Regions from separate parts of the Homo sapiens genome. Here region 1 is linked to region 2. The links are contacts of gene promoters, found by promoter capture Hi-C in blood cells and fetal thymus (Javierre and others, 2016). All regions are on one chromosome and are shown on one strand. Each heading gives the region's core, a stretch centred on a gene start or on the middle of the fragment in contact. The rest is flanking DNA. Distances are from core to core; before and after follow the strand shown.

Region 1 (3,467 bases), core at 872-3,371, 190 kb after region 2:
CAGGGTACCAGCCATGGCATTCTGACTATAATAAATCGTCATTGGAAACCCTTATCTTTCGTCAAAAACAGAAGACTAGGTCAAAAACAAATTGAACATGGACAATAGTTTTTTTAAAAACCACTAATATCTTTTACTAATAATGTTTTGTTCACTGGCTGCTGTAAGCATTCTCTGCTCATCTTTGCAAATAATCTGCCTTGACAACTTTTCTATTTATTAATTTTTTTGAGACAGAGTCTCGCTCTGTTGCCCAGGCTGGAGTGCAATGGCGTGATCTTGGCTCACTGCAACCTCTGCCTCCCAGGTTCAAGTGATTCTCCTGCCTCAGCCTCCCGAGGAGCTGAGACCACAGGCGCCTGCCACCACACCCAGCTAATTTTTGTATTTTTAGTAGAGATGGGGTTTCACCATGTTGGTCAGTCTGGTCTTGAACTCCTGACCTCAGGTGATCTGCCTGCCCTGCCCTCCCAAAATGCTGGGATTACAGGTGTGAGCCACTGTGCCCGGTCGACAACTTTTCTATTTTACAGTTATCGCTACTGTTCTGATGACTCTCAAATACGCAGCCCTCTTTAAAATTATGACACAGTTTTTAACGTTTGAACATTGTGGTTAAATAGAACAATGAGTTTTTTAGCCTCATCCTCCTTTCATTCTCATGTTAAGAATTTTTTTTTAGTGCTGGGTGTGGTGGCTCATGCCTGTAATCCCAGCACTTTGGGAGGCCAAGGCAGGTGGATGACCTGAGGTCAGGAGTTCAAGACCAGCCTGGACAACATGGTGAAACCCCTCCTCTACTAACAATACAAAATTAGCCGGGCATGGTGGTACATGCCTGTAATCCCAGCTGCCTGGGAGGCTGAGGCACGAGAATTGCTTGAACCTGGGAGGCAGAGGTTTCATGAGCCGAGATCACAACATTGTACTGCAGCCTGGGCAACAAGAGTGAAACGCTATCTCAAAAAAAAAAAAAGAAAAGAAAAGAAAGAAAAACAAATAATTTTTTTAAAAGGGGTCACATTCAGGATTTTATGTTATTTTGCATACCTTTGTGAGATTATATGTACTAAAGAGACATATTTTTATGCAAAGAATGAATAGAGTTGTTTTATTTTAGGAATTTCTTCCTTTCCTCTCTGATTCTTGCTGTACTTTGCACCAACTGTATCTTCAGATACACAGGTAAGAAGAATGCCATATGATTATTAAGATACAACAATGCCATCTGTGCCATGCAGTGCTTAAGTACCTACCATTTTATGATAAAACAGAATAATTTTTCTTAATGTTTTAGTAATTTTTATCTGCTAGCTTGAAATAATTGGAGATAGAGGCTTTTGAAAGATACATTCCACATGAGTTATGCTTATCTTTGTATTTTATTAGTACCTTATACAGGAGTAATAATTAGTAGGTGATAAAATCCAATGGCAAATATAAATATATATATACACAAATATACGTATACCTTTATTTTTCTATTGGCATTTTTTAATCTTTATTTTTATTTTGTTTCTATGAAGTTTAAGTCACTTAGCCTCCATTTAAATTTACATTTTGATACCTTTCTGTAATTCACTTTACAGGACAGTCTTTTTTCTGAAACCATCTCAGAAAAGAACTGAATTACAGAAAGGTATCAAAATTTAGATGGGGGCTAAGTGACTTCTAAAATTGATGGTTTCCTCCAAAGAGCCCTAAATTTGACACAAAGTGAGTTCATTTATCCAGCAGTCCTGTTGCAGCTTCATAATTCATTTAGTGTCCCAGACAACTTTTTCACACCTTTCCTTCCTCAAACTTCCTGTATCTTCCAACACCTTCCCAATTCCTCACTGTCAATGACCTCACTTCCTGTGTCACTGAGGAAAAATGGAAGCAATTAAGAGAGCTGCTGTATGTTTCCTCTAACACATCTACTATTCTATGTGTATCTAGACCCATATATTCATTCCCTCACTCCCATGAGTGAACTGTGCCCCTAAGACTAGCCTCTCCATTGTGCATTGGATTTCATCCTCTCTCACAGGCTCAGTGACCTTGCACCAGCAATTATTCCCTTTCCCTCTTGCATCATCAGCCTTTCCTCCATACTGGGTCACTCTCATGAGTATACAAATATGCTGTTATTTTTCCCATCTTAACAATACAAAACAAAATCTCTTGACTCTACGTCCTCCTACAAATACCGTCTCGTTTCTCTGCCTTTCTTTACAGCAAAATTTCTAGAAAGAGTTGTCTATACCCCTGTCTCAACTCTTTCTTGAATCTAGTCCAATCAGGCTTTCTGTACCAACACTTCATCAAAATAGTTCTTGTTAAGGTCATCAGTGACCACCACATTGCTGCATCCAGTAGTCAATTATAGTCCTTCTGTAACCTGTCAGTAGCACTTGATCCTCTTTTTTGAACACTTTGTTCTGTTGGTTTCTAGGGCATGTCTCACTCTTGGTTCTCTTCTAGTCTTACTAGCTGCTCCTTCTCAGCCTCCTTAGCAGGTTTCTCTTCTAAGTTAAGTGTGTCCCAGCACTTACTCCTCAGGCCTGTTATCTGTCTATTATCATTTAGTCTCAAGACTTTAAGTTTATGTCTCCTTTAATGTTTAACTACTAGTCAGGACATCTATACTAAATTGTCCCAAACTGAACTCTTGATTTCCACCCATATCATCCTCATACCCAACAAAATCTGTTCCTTTTGTAACTTCTTTATTTCAGTTTAAGTGGCAGTTCTTCAAATTGATCAGGCCAAAAAACCTTGCCCTATTAACATGTTCTGTCAATGTTACCTTCAGTGCACACACGCACACGTACACGCACTTCTCATCACCTGAACTGCTACCATCTGATCTGACCCCCTATTATTTTCTTGCCTGGATTTTGCAAAAAACTTTCTATCTTTGCCTCGCGCTAGTTTGTTCTCCACAAAGTAGCCAAAGTAAATGATAAAATACATAAATCAGATGATGTGACTTCTCTGCTCAACCCCTCAAAATGACTTTCATCAATGGAACTTCTTGTCTTTCTTTCCTTGTTTTATTTTTCTTCTTTACAGCATTGAATTAACCTCTGCTATATTATGTATTTACTTGTACACTTGTCTGTTAACTGTCCCCTTTCATTAGAATTGTAAACTATAAAGACAGTGACTTTGTATATTCTCTTTATTACTGTATCACCCACTCGTGGAACAGTGCATGGCATGTATACATAGGCACTTAGTAAACATATGTCAAATTAATTTAAAAATAGTTGATTGAAAAAATAAATTCTTGCAATGATGCTCAGTAGATGTAATTCAAGTCTGTGGAATTTCATTACTATGTTTTATTTGTATATGTCTTTTATTTATTTATAATTTAATCCTCACAGTAACTCAGAATCAATGTCACAAATGATGAAACTGAGTCTCAGGGAGGGCAAATGAATGAACCAAAGTCATGTAACTAATTGACAGATTGGTGC
Region 2 (3,482 bases), core at 876-3,375:
GTTTGTCCTGCCTCAGCCTCCTGAGTAGCTGGGATTACAGGCACATGCCAACATGCCCAGCCAGTTTTTGTAAGTTTAGTAAATATGGTGTTTCACCATGTTGGCCAGGCTGCTCTTGAACTCTCGACTTCAAGTGATCTATGCGCCTCGGCCTCCCAAAGTGCTGGGATTACAGGCATGAGCCACTGAGCCCGGCCATAGCCCGCTAAAACTTTGACAAACATCAGTGCAATTTAACTATAAGTTCCCAATCAAGAGCTACTCCTCTGAGATCTATCTGATTGAAAATACCCCACCAGAAAAACCTTATCCTCATTTTCTCAGGTCCTAAAAGTTAATTAAAGCCACTCTCTGAACTTGAAGCAAAATTTACACAGGCAGTTTGAGGTTTCTGAATCTTTGGGGCCAAATGTGCTCAGAGGAAAAGGAAGAGGTCTTGTCTTTGAAATATTAAAAACCATTCCAGGGCTGGGGCCTTAGCACTTCGCTGTAGAGCTCAAGCCTAATTTCAGGGTACCAAGAGAGGGGCTTCTGAACATAAAGCCCAGGAGGCAATCGAGAAGGGTTCTTACCCTGGGATCCACATGGAGGTCTGGGAACCTCCTGTGGTTGTCTCTAAAGGTTGGTGTTTATGTCGATGTTTTTGCTTTCATCTGGGAAAGACAAGTTGTAACTTTCATCAAAATCTCAAAGAACTCTCTGATCCAATAAGTTCATACCTTTGAAATAGAGGAGGATGCCAAGGAGAGTAGAAGGAAGAGAGGAATAACTGCTCATTTAAGTTAACCAATTCAGAAGTATGACATGCAAAAAGACAGGACAAAAGTAATTCATATCCTTAGGTCATTGTGGTTCAAACTTAAGACAGGCTCAAACTCCTTCCTCTTCTCTTTATCATACTCTTATTCCTGTTTTCCCCAACACAGAAACCCACATTATAAGTACTTGAAAAGTGTGCTATAGTAAAGCAAAGCAGTAGGATGAATCAGGTGTATGCGGTACTTTTTTCTGGAGTCCCACAGAAAGGTGCTCAAAAACAGAGACCTGCCTGGTTCCTCCATAGCCACAGACTGCAGGATTTCGGACCCTGGGACTATGTGGGATACTCTTGGAAAGTCTGAGGAAAATTGGAAGTAGCTTAACCATGTGCATTTTATCTAGGTGCATATAACATTGCTGAGTTCAAAATGCCTAGCTATCCTTGGATCTTCCCTGAATTAGAAGTAGCCTAACCACGTGCATCTTATCCATGAGCATATAACATTGCTGAGTTCAAAATGCCTAGCTATCCTTGGATCTTCCCTGAATCCTAAACCCCACTATTCCTAAGAATTTTCTTTTTATTGTAACAATAATGGCTAACATTTACTAATCACTTACTATGTGTCAGGCTCAGATCTGGATGCTTTTCAGCAAAATCTTATTTAATCCTCATGATGAAACTATAGAGTATTATTACTATATCCATTTTATAGAAGAAGAAACTGAGTCATTAACAAGATTGAGTCTTAGGGCAGAAAAGGAAACTATGTGGATATTCCAGATCAGTCCCAGAAGATTCATAGGCTCACAGAAAGAAATGGGAGGGATGGGGATGAGAAACTATTCAATTGTAAGCTTGTCCCAGGGCACCTACCCAGTCTTCCATTTATTCCATCATTTATCCCAGAGAGAAGTACAGTCTTGGAAAATGGGGTGACAGGTTTACCATGATCTATTCTCAGAGAGCCCCTATAAATTCTAGTAGGAGGAACAGCAGCTGCGGAGCCAGAGGACAGGCCCCAGATCCCAACATCATGTAGCCTAACAGTGAAGCTTAGATAAAACACAGCCTCTGTAAACCACGATGGCTTTATTTGTAAAATAGAAATAGCAACCTCAACTCACAAGGGTGTTGGGAGGGTCAAAGTGGACAGCAAGTTTAAAAGTACTCACAAAATCTAATAGGCAATTCAACATAAAACTCCATGGCTATCGCTGTTCCTCACTTTCTGAACCTTTACCTGCCTGACTTTACTCCATACCACTCCAACTCACTTCAACCACTTCCCATGCAGAAAAAAATAAACTCACCATCTCCTCTGTGACTCTGCTGGTTTTCTGCCTTCTGCCCAACCCAGACTGCTTACAGTCTCACTGCCTCCCCTCAGTGTCAGGCTGTTTAGAAAAACAACTTCCTATTCACATTCCAGAAACTCACCACAGCCCTTCCCATGAAGTTAGAATGTTGATAATGCAAGAGTAATGTTGGCAGCTTAGAAATAGTGGTTGCCAAGAGGCAAGGGGTCACCCCCTTCCATGGAAGATGGTCTGGAGGCAGGCGCAAGGTGAATTACTCCTGGATATCCCAGGCTGAGCAATGTGGGAACAGTACACACACAAAGGTTTCCTTGGATTATGATATAAGCTCCAATTTAAAGTAGTACATTTGGAAAACATGCTTTGAATTAATTACAATGTGATTTTCCAGTGCCCATTTTCCAGTAATTATGACATGTCAGTGAATGTTTACTATTCCGGCAGCCTTCTGAGGGAAAGAAGCAAAATTAGTAGCACAAAAAAAAATAGAGAGAAATGGAAAAAGCCACTAACAGTTTTCTGGCGCTTGGGAAATTTTATTGGTAAGTTTCAAAATGACGTATTAAATAGACATAGGTCATGTGAAAGGAATTCTGCTTCTTATATCAGAAATAAAAAGGTATACAAATAGATACCTTTTTATTTTCCTCTTCCCATGGGATGTGTAGGACCAAAAAGCTGTTGGCATAGTGGTTAAGACTTCAGCTGTGCTGTTAAACTGCCCGAGACCCATCCTGGCTCCTCTTCTGGCTATCTACTGGGCAAACTACTTAAGCTCTCTATGCCTCTGTTTCCTCAACTGTAAAACAGAATAACAGAACTTGCCTCACCGGGTTGTTGTAGGATGAAATGAGTTAATATGTACAGAGTGATTGAAATGACACTTGGCCCACAATTGATGCTCAACAAATGTTAGTGATTATTATTACTTTTCAGATTGATCTCAGACAGCAAAATCAAGTATCAAGTATTTAGTTTCAAGTCAGAAAGCCATAACTCCTATTTATACTCTTGGAATTCTATTGTACAGTAGTAGGTATTATTCTTCATTCACTTCATGATGGTTACAGCTTGTAAATAGGCATCTCATGGATAAATTTAAAATGGAATGAAGTAGAAACATTGGAAGAAAGTCTAAAGGTAAAGATGAATTAGGGTATATAAGGCTGCATTTGCACGTTGGAATTTGGGACCAAGAAGAAAAAATTAATTATATAGTAGAAGTAGAAAAGATGGTGAAGGAAATGCTGTTGAAGGAATGACTGTAGGGGAATAAGGGAAACTTAGAGAGAGGAAAAAATGAGGAACTTCTTGGCAGCATGATGCAGTTCAGAGTCCAGACCCTAGAGTCAGACTGCCTGGCTCCACCACCTACCAGCTGTGTTGGGCGTTACTAATCTCCC

What was found. Contacts are between HindIII fragments. The CHiCAGO score rates a contact against its expected background, and 5 or more counts as called.
Region 1: a contact is called between a fragment that was not itself captured here and the fragment with the promoter of SELP in region 2, in 1 of 17 cell types (neutrophils). The highest score is 5.5, in neutrophils.

Annotation. Positions count from the first base shown.
Region 1 is chr1:169,822,288-169,825,754 of GRCh38, forward strand. FIRRM (FIGNL1 interacting regulator of recombination and mitosis) reads left to right here. Exons shown (of 25, transcript NM_001320047.2): 11 at 1,121-1,185. Among named protein-coding and RNA genes, the nearest start is that of FIRRM, 29 kb to the left of the region's middle. The HindIII fragment of the contact is 5,588 bases long and covers 1-3,467 here.
Region 2 is chr1:169,627,999-169,631,480 of GRCh38, forward strand. SELP (selectin P) reads right to left here and starts at 2,126. Exons shown (of 17, transcript NM_003005.4): 1 at 2,074-2,126. The coding sequence starts at 2,076. The HindIII fragment of the contact is 5,122 bases long and covers 1,814-3,482 here.